2 separate regions of the Homo sapiens genome follow, and region 2 is linked to region 1. The links are contacts of gene promoters, found by promoter capture Hi-C in blood cells and fetal thymus (Javierre and others, 2016). All regions are on one chromosome and are shown on one strand. The core of a region is centred on a gene start or on the middle of the fragment in contact, and the rest is flanking DNA. Distances in the headings are between cores, read along the strand shown.

What was found. The method cuts DNA at HindIII sites, captures the fragments that hold promoters and counts their contacts. A CHiCAGO score of 5 or more calls a contact.
Region 2: a contact is called between a fragment that was not itself captured here and the fragment with the promoter of PANK1 in region 1, in 1 of 17 cell types (erythroblasts). The highest score is 5.1, in erythroblasts.

The regions. Positions count from the first base shown.
Region 1 is chr10:89,640,602-89,648,358 of GRCh38, forward strand. It overlaps PANK1 (pantothenate kinase 1), which reads right to left and starts at 4,641. Exons shown (of 7, transcript NM_148977.3): 1 at 3,999-4,641. The coding sequence starts at 4,290. It overlaps PANK1-AS1 (PANK1 antisense RNA 1), which reads left to right and starts at 3,513. Exons shown (of 5, transcript NR_184344.1): 1 at 3,513-3,598. RefSeq lists silencers at 3,415-3,464, 4,165-4,644. The HindIII fragment of the contact is 3,186 bases long and covers 3,754-6,939 here.
Region 2 is chr10:89,368,813-89,376,569 of GRCh38, forward strand. It overlaps a transcript of LIPA not described here. Among named protein-coding and RNA genes, the nearest start is that of IFIT1B, 5.4 kb to the right of the region's middle. The HindIII fragment of the contact is 3,422 bases long and covers 2,490-5,911 here.

The DNA.
Region 1 (7,757 bases), core at 3,391-5,890:
AACCTAAAGCATATGTAGTTAAATATATTAGAAGTCAAGCCCTGATTAATTTTCATGATAATTGGCTCATACTTAACATATATACACACAAAATATTAAAATGCAGGCTATCCCACACAGACAAAACAGCCTGTCAGTTAAAACCAATACTTATTTGTTTCCCCTACTTATTCTGTCTCCAAAACCATGAAAGGTTTTTAGTCACTTGTTAAATGTCTCACATATCAAGAACCAACAACACTGTTCCTGTCTTTGGTCACCATGCCAAATAAAATATGCTTTGTATTATATTAATGTTGAAACTCACTTACTGGTCTTTTGGAGGAAAAGCAGTGTTTGTATGCTTAATAGAATCCTGATCCTTAACCAGTTGGACACTGGACACTTGGGCCTTAAATTATTAATCATCAATTCAAATGTGTATTGTACAATTCATAGCTTAATTGACAAACTTGGGAATTTGACCACACTCTAGAAGGTAGCAATACTAGAGTGTGCTCCTGCTTTCCCTTTTAGTCTTTTGTTTTTGAACTTGCAATGTCTCTTATCCATGTAGAAGTATTGATTATGTTAAAATTAATTGTTAAAAATACTGTATGCATCCATACTCTATGCAGATACAACCAGAAAATTTTCCTTATTTATCTTTTTTATACTGGTTTTTCTAATTAGCCCAATTCAAGGGTAATGTAAAGTCCAAGTTCCAAAGCTAAACATCCCAATATTTAGGAAATTAAAGCCTTATACTTTCACAATGATGGCTAAAACTGGTAACAGATTTGGGGTTTTTCAGTCTGTACCCACCAGTATGCTACCTGCATAATGAACTCTCACTCATTTTCTGCTATCTGGATGATTTGAGAAGTCAGAACCTCCGACCAGAAGGCTGACTGCATGCATCTACTCATTATTCCTGCCTGTTGCCACACATAAGGTAGCACATGCCCTTGAGCCCTTCAGATGATACTCACATACAAAAAATTAGCTGGGCGTGGTGGTGGGCGCCTGTAGTCCCAGCTACTTGGGAGGCTGAGGCAGGAGAATGGCGTGAAGCCAGGAGGCGGAGCTTGCAGTGAGCCAAGATCGTGCCACTGCACTCCAGCCTCGGCGACAGAGCGAGAATCCGTCTCAAAATAAATAAATAAATAAATAAATAAATAAATAAATAAATAAAATAAAAAAAAATCAGCACAAGGCAAAAAAGTCCATTCACAATTAAATGTTAAATCAGTGGCACAGCAGATAACTAGTATCATCTAGTAGGAAGAACTGTCAGCTCTGAAGTGTCATAGAATTCTGAAGGTACAGGAAACAGCACTTGGAGATCACCTAGCCTAGCTCCAGCAGTTCAAGATGTGACTTGGTAACTTGGTTAAGATCACACTGCTGCTAAGTAGCAGAGGTGGGTAAAGTACCTAAGGAAACCTGATAGTAAGTAGATAGTCTAAGAAAAGCCTTCCAAGAATAAGTAGAGTGAGGTGATGGCACTTTAGATGAAAAGAGTGGACAACATTCTCCTTTCCTGGTTTAGCAAAATTAACCTGCCACTGGTCTGACTTTTAGATTGTAGGATGGTGAATAGTCTCGGCACTGAGAGGTCAGATTAAAATTTGTTAAATAATCTAAAAATACTGATCTGTTTTATTCCATCCATCATTTTCAAACATGAAGTATTTTAATGTGTATTGTCCTTTACCTACAATACTACAAAATAGAAACACACCTATCCACACATGCATTCCAGGTGCATTTACAAGTGTTAACACTGGCTATCTTAACACACATCTTGTTGGGACAGAGGCCAAACTGTTGTAACTGACCAGGAGGAAATAATTATGTGTCTAGCTTGATGCTTCGCCACCAGCACACACTAAAGTTTGCGTTTAAAGCACACAACTACTCTTTGCAAAAATCGTTCCTGTAAAATCTGTCAGTCATCAGCAAATAGGAATAAGCTTAGAGTATGTAAATACTCACAGAGTACCTAAATATTCCTCTTAGAGTACCTAATTCCTCTTAGAGTAACTAAATATCAACTGATTGGACAATATTCTTTTTATAAAGATATGTGAATGTCAATAGGCAAGGCACAAAGATATTAAGTTAAGCCATTTTTAACTAAGAAATTTTGGTAGTGAAAAGGCCAGATGTGACTCCTAGGAACATGTAAAATTTATTTCAGACATGATTGTTCAAATCTGAGAGAAGAAAACATGGTAAATAATGTAAATCCAATTTTGACGAACCGTTTTTTAAAAATTATAAGTAACAATCGTGGTCATGAAACTTAAAACAACTAGGATTTTTATTCTGTAAGAAACATAAACCACTTTAATTTCTGATACAAAGCACACAGGCAGATAGTTACATTTTCTTGTATTTTAAAATAATTTCTGTGGGTTTGCAAGCACAAGTTAAGGCTCAGGTTAGTTTTTCTCTGTCTTCAAGATATTCCTAGAGGGTGTATTTTCAATTCCTCAGAAGTTATTTCAAGAGGTGTTATATCCTCAATTAAACATAGAAGATTAAGCTAGAAGCTCCCTTTCATTATATTTTAGCTATTTTCATTGCAAACTCTAGTACAATCTGTCAATGTAGATAAGAGAAATAACTGAAGTATAGCTTCAAAATAAGTGAAACAGGTTTATAAATCACAGGTAATCAATATTAAGTCCTGACTTTTAAAATATTAATACTAATGAAAGTCATTTTCTAACAAGTATCAAAAACAAAAGCAAATAAAAATTCAGGTGCTAGATTACAACCTTACACCTTACAACTGTAGCCAAATCTGCTGTTTGGCTTTAAAGTTCCACACAAAATCTTAACCTACAAATTTAACATTTCAAACCCACAAAATACAAGTACCAGAGTCACCCACAGTCATGTCAAAGGGCTTTCCAAGGTCTTAGAAACCTTAATCCAATACAGAAAAGCTAAGAGTCAAAAAGACATAGAAACAGGGAAAAGTGAAGGTGTTATTTGCCAAACATTAAACTTTCACAGAAATCCAAAACCTACTTAACAATTTCCCTATATCGAACAGCATAACCTCTATGCAAATGCAGTCATTTATTAGCATTTACTGTACTTACTTTGCTTTTTGCCATTTATAAGCTTCATTAAAGACACCCACAAAGAAGTAACCAGTTGAATGAGCTTCAGTCAAGAAAAACCAGCTGTAAACTCGACCTACAAATTTACATCCCACAGCGTCCTGTGGGGAAGGTACACTTTACAAACTACCATTATATATACAAGCTTTAGATTGTGAAATAATGCACTTCGGCTTTCTCCGGTGTACATTACAATTACAAACCCTCAACTCAACCTCCCCCTTCGTTGAAAAAAAAAATCCACCTCCAATCCTCATTGGTCCACATAGTTCCGGCCCACATGGTATCAGTGGGTGTGTCCCTCCCAAAAAACCCTCTCATTGGCCGTGAAGAAACAGCTTCTAATAGGCTGTGATTTTGGGGGGTAGTTAAACTCCACGCCTCCAGACTTGCGCTCTCCAATAGACCCGAGACGCTGCTGGCTACTCTGTGATTCAAAGGGCAGGCAACCCCAGTAGGACGCGCTCAGAGAAGCGAGAGGGGTGAGAAAGGAGAGAGCACCCTCGGTGTGCCGCCCACTTTATCCTCACTCCTGGACCCCAGCAAATGTTCACACACCTGCGTTTTCCCAGCCACCAATTAGAAGGGCGGACAGAGCGTTCGCTTATTATATATCCTTGACCTAGGGACCCGCTCAAGCTTCGTGTCCAATCCTCGTTCTACTGATAGAAGCGAGCAAAGGGCAGGCTCAGGCAAAGACCTGTAGTGCTTGATGTCCCCTAGGAAAAGAATCAGTCCCGGGAACCTACTCTGTGCAGTCCCTCGACCGCAGACGCGGGGGCGCACGGGGCGTGCTGCGGCGCCTGCCTCAGCCGCTCCCAGTCCCGGGCCCCGCACGCTGCGTCTGCCTTGCGCCCGCGCTCCCCTCCCAGCGGGACTTACGCGGCCTGTTCTTTCTCCCCGAGTCCATCCTCCTCCGCAGCCGGCATTTCTTGGCCGGGGAGTCATGCTGAGGGAGCAGTGGCTGCGGCTGCAGCTCCGGCAGGAGCGGGAGGCGCTGGGGCGCCGCGTCGCTGCCGCCCACTGGACCCCGGCTGCAGACGTGCGGCGGCTGGACTGGCGGCGGATGGAAGCCGTTGTGCAGCAGCCCGTTCACAGCGGCGGCGCTGGTGCCCACGGGGGCCCCTGGAGAGTGCGGGACCGAGCGCTCCTGCTGCCCGCTGCGGTCGCCCATGCCGGGGGCTGGCGGGGCTGTGCGCGGGCCCCGGCTCAGGCGGCCTCGCTGGAGGTCATTCTCCGGCGTCTTTATTTCCCCGGATCCTCCCTGCGGCTTCCGATTCAGCAGCCGCAGAGCCGGCGCCTGGGGATGGCGAACCCGGCGCTCCTCCCCTCCTCCTGCCGACTCCCCCACCTCCTCTGCGCCCTGCCCCCCGCGCGCCGGCCCCACGGCGCCGGCCTGGAGCACGCCAGCCCCGGGCGCGGAATCGGGGATCCCCGCGCACCCCCAGCCGGGGCTCCCGCCGCCCGCCTTCCCCTGATCCCCAGGCCGCGCGACTTCAAACGCGGCTTCCTCGCCTCCCAGACTGGTCCCCGCCACTGAGCATGCCCAGTCCTGCCCGCCACCGCCACCGACGAGTTTCAACATGGGGAATCAAGTTCTCTGGGCTTGCAGAGAGGAGATGGGCGGGTTGGGCTTTGTATGGCGATGTGAAAACCAGATGGGTCTGGGAGAGACAGCGAAAGGAGCGAACCGTTTCAGGAGGAATACGGGAGGAAGACAATTATTTGCAGAGGTGTCAGGTTTGCTAATCCTGTCCCCAGTGAGCAAGATACCTTTGCAAGGTCATTCACGTTACCCTCCCCGCTTTGTGAGTGTGTGCTTACGCGCGCGCGCGTGTGTGCCTGTGCGTTTGGTTAAGTGACCAAACTACTTAGAGGCCTGAGGGGAGGGAGAACAATTATTTATAGAAAAGTTGGCAGACTTGGGGAGGGAGGGGAGTGAAATTTCTTTGCTGGCACGCACACACACTCAAACACCATGTGGTCTCATGGAGTTGTCTTTTGCAGGGAGGAAACCTAGGAATACAGTGTAAGGACAGTGAAGGACAAAACTGTAGGCAGGATTAATCGGTGCTGAAAGAGATCAAGTAAACAGGAGCAATTCCATGCTATAAAAAGCACTTTCCTCACCCAGAAAGGACTTCAAAAGACAATGTCATGTTATTTATAGAGTAAGGAGTTGCCTCTTCTAAGAAGGGAAGGCGGCATCACGTGGTGACCAGCACTACGAGCTTTGGAGTTAGCACTGGGTTCAAATTCCAACTCAGCCACTGAGCAAACCCAGATAACGTTAATGCTCAAGGTAACACTTCTAGCAATAGGAAACGGGACTGTCCATGCTCACTATGCAGGACTAATTTGGGTGGTGAATACCTTCCCAAAGTTATGCAATCTCTTGAGGCCTCACTTTCCTATCCATAATGGGGCTGTTGTGAGAAAATCTACTAAAAGTACCTGGTACAATCCTGGCACACAGTAAATGCTCAGAAAGCTAGTTTTCCTTATTACGCTATTATGATTAGCAGTTCACCCTTTGTTTCGACAGGGGAACAAACCATGCTTACAGCCGTATTTATTGTGTGATTTATTTTGTGATATTCTCCGTGATTTGCAATTAATCTACAGAGGAGTCAGAGTCTGGCAGGTGCTGGCTGGCTACTGGGTTGCTGGGCCCCTGGGCTTCAGTGCATTCAGCAGCATCTAGGGCTTGCATCTGGCAATTCCTTCCAGCAGAGCCTTACCTAGAATCAGAGCTTGAGAACCATGGGGGCCACTGGAGCACTCTGGTCTATCCACTCTTGCATACTTTTTTCGTATCAGGAAACTGAGCTGCAGACAGATGGCTGAGGTTATTAAGAGCAAAGGTGGGACTAAACTCCAAATCTCAACTCTCTTAGCTTCCCTAACCTTATGCTATTTAAAGACAGAGAAAAAAACCCAGGTGATCTGGCCCCTCCCTACCTCTCCTGCCTCATCAGGGGCTCCCTGTGCTGCCTTCAATTCCTTAAACAACATTCTGCTGTTTCCATTGCCTTAGAGAAGTCTCTTCTCTAAGACCTCTTTTGTCTACTAGACTCCAACTTTAGATCTCCTCTTTAACTTCTCATATTTAGAGAAATGTTCCCTGACCCTTAGGGCTACATTAGGTCTCCCTGCCATACCCTCTTCCTACTCCTTGTACTCTGTTTATGACTCCTTATCATTTTGTAACTATACCATGCATCTGTTCCCTCATTTGTAACTTGAGAATAATAGGACATCACTGAGTTGTTAGACTGATGAAATGCATAACACATGCGTAAAATTAATTCAAACTTCAAGCTATTGGAACTTTTTTGTGAGACTTGAGAGAAATGTGGCTATGCAGCTACAACTTCTGCTTTTTTTTTTTTTTTTTTTAAGACAAGGTCTCACTCCTTCACCCAGGCTGGAGTGCAGTGGCACAGTCGTAGCTTACTGTAGCCTCCAACTCCTGGGCTCAAGCGATCCTCCCACCTTGGCCTCCCAAAGTATTGGAATTATAGGAATGAGCCACCATGCCTGGGCTTGCCTTTTTTCCTTGTAAATAATTAGGAAGACCGAGCAGGGCCAGAGATACTAATCCCTTGGATCACTGCCTCTCCTCACAGAGTAATAATCTTCCTTGGAATGCAGCAGTCTGCAACCAATCAAATCGCTGTGGCATATGCATTGGTCTTGTATGGAAAATGTAATTCTGCTGGAACTTCTCCATCTCTGCCAGTATAAGTGAAATCTTAACTTCTCCACTTTGGAGCACTGATCCCACTCATTTGGAGTTAGTGTTTCCAGGTGGCTATCCTCAAGCTTTGCACTCAAACTTCATACTTAATCATGTTCTCTAAATCTCATTATTTAAGGTTAACATATGTAAAGTGTCCAGCACATTGTAAGTGCTAGAAAAAGACATTATTATTATTTGATTGCCCATCTTACCCCACTTCACTGTAAGCATCTTTAAGGCAGATGACTTGTTCATCACTCTATCCCTAGGAGGCACTTGGTAATTATTTGTGACTGGATAAATGACTTATATCAAGCTTGTCTAGCCTGTGGCCCACAGCCTGCATGCGGCTCAGGACGGCTTTGAATACGGCCCAACACAAATTCATAAACATGAGATTTATTTTTGTGACTTTTTTTTTTTTAGCTCATTAGCTATCATTAGTGTTAGTGTATTTTATGTGTGGCCCAAGACAATTCTTCCTCTTCCAGTGTGGCTCATGGAAGCCAAAAGATTGGACACCCCTGACTTAGATGATATTTCACACAGAGTCCCCCTCACTTTCTACTGTAAATTTGCTAAAAATCACCAGCCACTCCTAAATATTCAAATATATCATTTTCAAATTCCCACATAATTGAGCTGAGTGGCTTAGGAAGCAAATTACATCAGAGATGCAAATAGAAGCTTTAGCATTGCAATATCTCCAAGGACATATTTTTTCTAGCTGGATTCCCAGGCCTGCTGAGGAAGGCCTGAGCCAGGTGGCTCAGACCCAGGCAGGGCAAAAGTACTGGTACTGGGACAGAACGTCCTCCACCTGCTTCCTTTCTCCTACCCTTGTCAGGCTGGGTGCTTGGATCAGTTACACCCAGCGTATGGTAGGGAAGAAGCCAGGT
Region 2 (7,757 bases), core at 2,951-5,450, 270 kb before region 1:
AGGAGTCCAAAGTAGACAGAGAAAGACATACCCCCAGACCATCACTTTAACTACACACAAACATATAAACTTACACACACAAACTCACACACTCACAAACACAAACACAAAACTCACACACACACACACACACACACACACAAATGGTTAGAAGGCATCCGAATCTGCTCTCCCTGGCTCTGGAACTCTTTGGAGCTGCCAGGTGTCTACCACAGGGATTGGATTATTTATATTCATTAAGCTCAATGTCAATCTTTTTCCATGGGCAGTGCTGATTCCATGGCCTTCTCCACAGTCTACGGCAAAGGAAAAACTCCTTAGAATAACTTGTACACACAACAGAAGCATTCTACTTGTACATTCTTCTTGTACATACAAAAGAAGCATTCACTCCAAGCTCAGGGAAGAGAAACTCAGTCTCCTGCCTTTCTGGGGCCCCAGAATGTCTCTTAAGTGCCCTTCCAACTAGTGCTTGGTAAATGAGACACTGGGCTGAGGAAACCACTGACCACAGGCCACGTCTTCCCTCTGCAAGCTTCTAGATTCAGTTGCCAGGATGGGCTCCTGGACTGTGCCTATTCTACTGGACACTGATTAAAAGTCATCTCTGTGCCCTTTCATTTCAGGCAGCTGGGGAGGGGATGGCAGTGAGCAGCCAAGAAGCGGTCTCTCTCCACCCTGGGAACCAAGCCATTGAGCTAAGTTCTGAAAACCGGTATGTTGGAGTTATCTTTATCAAGAAACTTCAAAAAGTTCATGAAATAGCTGAAGGAGGAAGATTAATGAAGAGAGTCATAAAAGAATATTCTATGGACAACAGATAATGCTTTTTAATGAGTTTTTCCTAAATAGAAGTGTTTCCTATATAGAGGTATTTGCGCCCTCTACTGCCTTCAGCTGCTACTTCTCAGCAAATTATCCCCTGAATATAAAGTCTTAGATACTAGCACACAGATCTTTTGAGTTTTTTAAAAAGGAGATTCATCAGTATATATGGATGGAAGGAAAGGCAGAGAGAATGGCATTCCTAGTCTCCTCTGGAGCAGGAATGCATACTATATTCCCCACATACAGCCAAAGGTCACTGTGCCCAGAAAATGTAGGAAGTTTCTTAATGAACTATATTAAAGCTATAAAAGCTGCAGCTCAAGAAACTGCTATGTGCTACCGAAGGCAAGTGCTGCTTCCATCAGGTGTGTGGGGGAACCCCCAGCATCTGACACTGCAGGCTTTTATGTAGAGCTGGGTGGTCTGATATGAAGCCACTATGCAGCTATTTCAATTTATATTTAAATTAATTAAAATAAAATCTAAAACTCAGTTCTTCAGATGCACTAGTTACACTTGCAGTGCTCAATAGTAATATATAGCTAGCGGTGGCACAGATTTAGAATGTTTTCTTTTTTTGTTTGTTTTGTTTTTTTTTTTCTGAGACAGGATCTGTCTCTGTTGCCCAGGCTGGAGTGCTGCAACACAGTCATGGCTTACTGCAGCCTCAAACACCTGGGCTCAAGCAATCCTGCCGCCTCAGCCTTCCAACTAACTAGGACTACAGGCTCACACCACCACATCGGGCTAAGTTTTTTTTTTAATTTTATTTTTTGTAGAGACAGGGTCTCTCCATGTTGCCCAGGCTGGTCTCAAACTCCCAGACTCAAGTGATCTTCCCAATTGGCCTTGGAAAGTGCTGGGATTACAGGTGTGAGCCACCCAACCCACCCTAGAACATTTTTAACATTGCAGAAAGTCCTTTTGGAACTAATGTAGGGTTTTTCAGTCTAAGCACTATTGCCATTTGGGGCCAGATAACTCTTTGCTGTGAGGGGTTGTTCTGTACATTATAGGATGTTTAGCATCAGCAATGACCTCTGGATGTCAGTAGCACCCACATCTCCAGATGTGATCATCCAAAGTGTCTCCAGGGGCCAAGTGTGGTGGCTCATGCCTGTAATCCAGCACTTTGGGAGGCTGAGGCAGGCAGGTCACCTGAGGTCAGGAGTTCAAGACTAGCCTGGCCAACATGGAAAACCCTATCTCTACTGAAAAAGTACAAAAATTAGCTGGGCATGCTGGTGGGCACCTGTACTCCCAGCTACTCGGGAGGCTGAGACAGAAGAATTGCTTGAACCCAGGAGGCAGAGACTGCAGGGAGCCGAGATCGCACCACTGCACTCCAGCCTGGGTGACAGAGTGAGACTCTGTCTCAAAAAAACAAACAAACAAACAAAAAATTTTCTCCAAGTATTGCCAGATGCCCCCAGGGGCAAAATTGCCCCCATTTGAGAACTGTTCATTTAAAGCAGTAATCAGCCCAAGTAGGCACTGGCCAGATCCCACCAAAAGGAGATATCACAGAACTCATACAGACAGCCTGGATAAGTTGGTGGGTAAGAGTATCTAATGAAAGACCAGCCACTCCTACATCATGTGCCACTGCCACTTCATGATCTTAATGCATATGGCTTAAGACATATGGGTTAACAAGGCTAAGCTTGTGGCCTGCTTACAGATGGAGAATCTTGATAATTCCATGACTCTCCATTTTAGTTCACATCAGAACTATAACTCTTTATTTGCCTTAGGGCTGGAGATCAATAACATGATCCAAAATGTCTTCTATGAGCCTCACAAAGTAGTATTTCTTTTCTCTGTGCTTACACAGCATCTAAACTGTACATGTTTTAGTACAATAAAATCAAATATGTTCTAATCTGTCTCTGTCTCCCACGAGACAGCAAACCACTAGTGATGGAGGGGAAGAAGAGGCATCTCCATCGTTTTACCAACTGGTGTTCTCAGAATGCCAGGCATAACACAGGTAAGCATTACTGGTTTGCTGAACGTTTGAACTGATGAGAAGCCCCTGACAATGAATGCTGCTTTGGAGGCTTGTGAGTACTACTTGTAAAGATCGCCTACCATCTGACCAGTTATTTTTACCATTGGAACCTTAAACATCCTTGGAATTCTCAGAGCTATAGGAATAACATGGGTGTTGATCTATGTTCTTTTTAGCCCATCTAATTTAAGATTCTAAATTTTGGTTGCATGAATACTATGCAGCCAAAGGACAAGATCGTGTCCTTTGCAGCAACATGGATGGAGCTGGAGGCCATTATCCTAAGTCAACTAACATGGAAACAGAAAACAAGATACTGCATGTTCTCACTCACCAGTGGGAGCTAAACACTGAGTACATGTGGACACAAAGAAGGGAACAACACAAATATGGGACCTACTTGAGGGTAGAGAGTAGGAGGAAGCCCCTCATAGAGGCCCCTATCACAGAAAACTTCCCGTCTCCGGTGTACTAATTTGGTAGTCAGCTGGCAGTTTCACCGTTGCACATTCTGTCTTATCTGCTTTTGCAGGATTACCATGACTTGAGATACAAGAACAGGTTTATGGTCCTAGACCAAAGCCTTTCCCCTAGTGTGTGCAGCCAGCATCATTGCACACTGCAAGAGTAGCCACAGGGACCCTTTGGGGTCAGACCTGCTCACAGACTAGACAGTCTTGGAAGTATTCTTCCAGTGGGGGAGACAACAGGATTATGATTTTGCCAAACACTTCAGGTTAAAGACCAAAAGTTAACTGAGGAAGTTTTTCATGAACCTCAGGAAGAGATAAACATCCAATTCTCTGTTATTTCAAAGCAACCAATGTGTACTGTTTTTATTAAAAGCAAATTAAGCGCTTATCAATCTGTCTCCTGCTACATGACAGGTCACTTGAGAAGAGGAAACATGCCCTATGTGTCCCAACAGAGTACCTGGCCTGTACCTAATGATAATTCATAGCTTGCTGATTATAGAAATGGACAAGGAGCTTAGAGCAATGAAGTCTGCCTTGGCCATGCTAACAATATGTTTGGATCGCAGGTTCCTTAAACCTCTGTGGGTTTCCCAGAACCATGGGAATGGCATTGAACTTCTTTTTTCAGCTCAATGTATAATCCTAAATTTCAATTGCATCTAGAAAACATCTTCACCTCTTCTCATTTCCTTTATAGACATGGACTTTTCAAGTCCCAAGATACTTCAGACAGTCTAAAAACAACTTGCTTTCCGGGAACCTGAGGACTTTTCCAATAGACATTATAGGATCTATGAAATATCTTGAGTCTAGTTCAGTGATGTAAATGCTTCCTACAATTTATATAGACAATTCCAGGTGAATGAATATTTGACATGTAAAACAATGAAAGCACAGAAATTCAGTTAGAATTGGAACACGTGGGGCCGGACGCGGTGGCTCACGCCTGTAATCCCAGCACTTTGGGAGGCAGAGGCGGGCGGATCATGAGGTCAGGAGATCGAGACCATCCTGGCTAACACAGTGAAACCCCGTCTCTACTAAAAATACAAAAAACATTTGCCGGGCGTGGTGGTGGGTGCCTGTAATCCCAGCTACTCGGGAGGCTGAGGCAGGAGAATGGCGTGAACCCGGGAGGCAGAGCTTACAGTGAGCCAAGATTGCACCACTGCACTCCAGCCTGGGCGACAGAGCGAGACTCCCTCTCAAAAAAAAAAAAAAAAAAAAAAAACTGGAACACGTGGGAGTCAGCCAGAAAAGTAAATCAGAGTAGCCCAAAGATAGCCATCAAGACCCCTGAGGTGGTATGAAGATTACCAGGACTTTCAGAGCAGAGAAGTTCCTAGTAGCTGAGTATTTTCTCTGTGGACATGATTGGTGCAAGTTTGCAAACATGAGTAGTCTCAAAAGCAAACATCAGACACTCTCTGTAGAGGTCAGTGCACTTTGACCTACATCCTTTCTGGTATTGCATGGATTATTAAGGTGCACAAGGGGAAACCAAAGCATAGAAAAATAAAGTTCTAGACTCAGAGCCTCATAGAAAATAGGTATTTATTAGGAATTAGTCTCTGATCCAAAGCATTTGGACCTGAAAGGGATCCAGGGATCATTTGGAAAAGTATCTGTGAAACTTTAATGTACCAACAAATCATCTGGACATGTTAAAAGGCAAGTTCTCATTCAGGAGATCTGTAGAGGGGCCTGATATTCTGCATTTCTGGGCTTTTAGTAGTTGAGGATGCCACTGTAACAGACCATATCCTGAGTAGCAAAAATCTAGTCTAGTGGTTTTAAACCATGCACAAAAAAATCACTTTGGGATTACTTTTTTCAGAAAACTTACTGATAATACTCATGCCTGGGCTTCACTTCCAGAGATTCTGATTGATTGGGCTGGAGATTGGCTCAGGCATCTGCATTTTTAAAAGACTTCCAAGGAATTTTACAACCTTGCAGCCCAAGGTTGTAAACCACTGTTCAAGGCCAACCTTTTTCTATACCTGATGAGGAAACTCAGTGTTTAAGTGAAATCAAGTTCACTCTGCTAGTTCGTCGAACACAGAGCTGGTTCTGGAATGTTGATAGTGGTTAAGTTTTATTTCTCCAATGCTTAAGTTTCATTTCTACAAGTAGGCATCCTGCCCATTAGAAATGAGTTTCCCTCTCTAGTTTCCATTGTTTTTTTCCTATTTGTAGACACAGACACACACACACTCTCTCTCTCTCTCTCTTACACAATGTGTTGGCTGTTTCCTTATTGTTGCTCTGTCCTGTGTGGTTCATGGCTGTATTTATCCAAGGACACACTGGGCCAGATCCTGAATACCTAATCAGTTGAGCCAGAGCCTCACAGAACCAGGACTGCTGCCAAATTCAGTGACCACATGACAAACACTCACTCTGTTTCTCTGACACGCTGTTACTAGCAATAATTTTATGCATGAAAATTCCAAAGTCATACTACTCTCAGTGTAAGCAGCTCTCCTAATGTTCATTTCAGTATTTGCTTATGTTTCTATCCCTTTTAGAGTTGATTCAGGGCTAGTGCCTTACAGAAGATATTTGTATCTGAAAACACAATTGGCCTCCTAGAAGCTTCCCATCTGATACAGAACTGGAGAGAGAGAGCTGAGAGGAAATGAGTCCCATTCCAAAATCTCTTCTCCCCCTACACAGGTCCATCCTCACTAGGGAGAGGTTGAATGCCTGCTGCCCAAGAGGTACTGCTGGGCTCTATGTGTAGATATGGCCAGGGCTCCCTGACCTGAGCCTGAGATGGGAATATGTAGATTGCCCTGGCCTGAAGCTCAGAACAGGACACCCCTATCTCAGCAGCTGCACAGTCAGATATGACATGAAACACCTCTCTCTCAGTGCCCACTGGGAAAAATTGTAGTCTGGAAGGGCTCCAGCTAATGGTCAGCACAGACTGCACAGATAAGGGGACTTGTCCCACACTGTGAAAGCAACACTCACAATTACTGAATGCTGTTAAATGAGACATGCTTTCCATGCAATATCCCACTTCATCTCAACATAACCCCATGACGAAAGTCCTAGTGCTATTCCGATTCCATGGGTAAGTAAATGTGGCTTAGAAATGTGAACCAACTATCCCAAGATCACATGTCCAGTAAGCAGCAAAGTCCATTAATGACCCCAGGTAGTCTGATTCCAGGTGGCCTTCACTACTGAGCAACATCATCTTGTGCGCACAAAGACAAGTAAAGGTAAAGGGTTTTAATAGTTCTCATTATGCCCAAGCTGCAGAGCAAGAAAGGAAACCTCAGAAGAAAACATCCCATTGGCCCCAAATATAGAATAATGGTTGTTCTATGATGGGGTGCTATTGTCTTATACTCAGAGTACACAACCCCAAAATAAACAAGATGGCAAATATCTGTGCAGAACCCCCTCCATCAGGTGATTCTGTCACCTGACAGGTGTAGAAGGTTTTTTCTAATGGCCTTGGTTTGCTCAACCCCAGATGGAACAATGTTTGACTAACAATCATTCTTCCCTTTCAGCAAACTTGGTCTTCCACAGCAGGGCTACGTGGGCCTAGTTTCCTTTCCCTCATTCCCCTGAATGGTTCTAACCTCCATTTCTGTGCTGTCATTATGCTTAGAGAATTTTTCTGCCTACTTTTATTATTAGAGTATACTCAAGGAATAAAATGGGGATTCTCATTACTTAAGTAATGTTGAGATTTGGTGGGTTTATGGAAGAATACATGGATCTAAATGATATCCTGTGCTTGTAAGATGTCAAGACGGGCCAGGTGCAGTGGCTCACACCTGTAATCCCACACTTTAGGAGGCCAACACAGGTGCATCACCTGAGGTCAGGAGTTCGAAACCAGGATGGCCAACATGGTGAAACCCCATCTCTACTAAAAATACAAAAAAATAGCTGGGTATGGTGGTGCACACCTGTAGTGCCAGCTACTCTGGAGGCTGAGGCATGAGAATCACTTGAACCTGGGAGGCAGAGGTTGCAGTGAGCAGAGATAGTGCCACTGTACTCCAGCCTAGGTGATACAGCGAGACTCTATCTTAAAAAAAAAAAAAAAAAAAAAAGAAGAAGAAGTCAAGAGGTCCAGCACATTCTTCTAGGAACTTGTCTCATGCGAATGGGGAGATGTGGTCTATCTCAAGTTGCCTAAATCCTTCCTTGAATAGACGTGGAGATGGGTTTTTAATTCACATAGAGAGAGAGATTATATACTATACTCTTTCTTAAGCATATTCTTTTCCTAAGATGTCTGCTCTCATTTCAACTGTGAATGCATAAGATCTTATGTGACGTTCCTTTTCTGGGTAGTCCTTCTTGTCTATATAATTTTTGGCTTTAGAAAGGTCAGGAGCAGTAACTGGAGCAGTAACTCAGAAGTTCCCTGAAAAGAAAGAGAAGAGCTGCCCCAGACATCTGAGAGCATC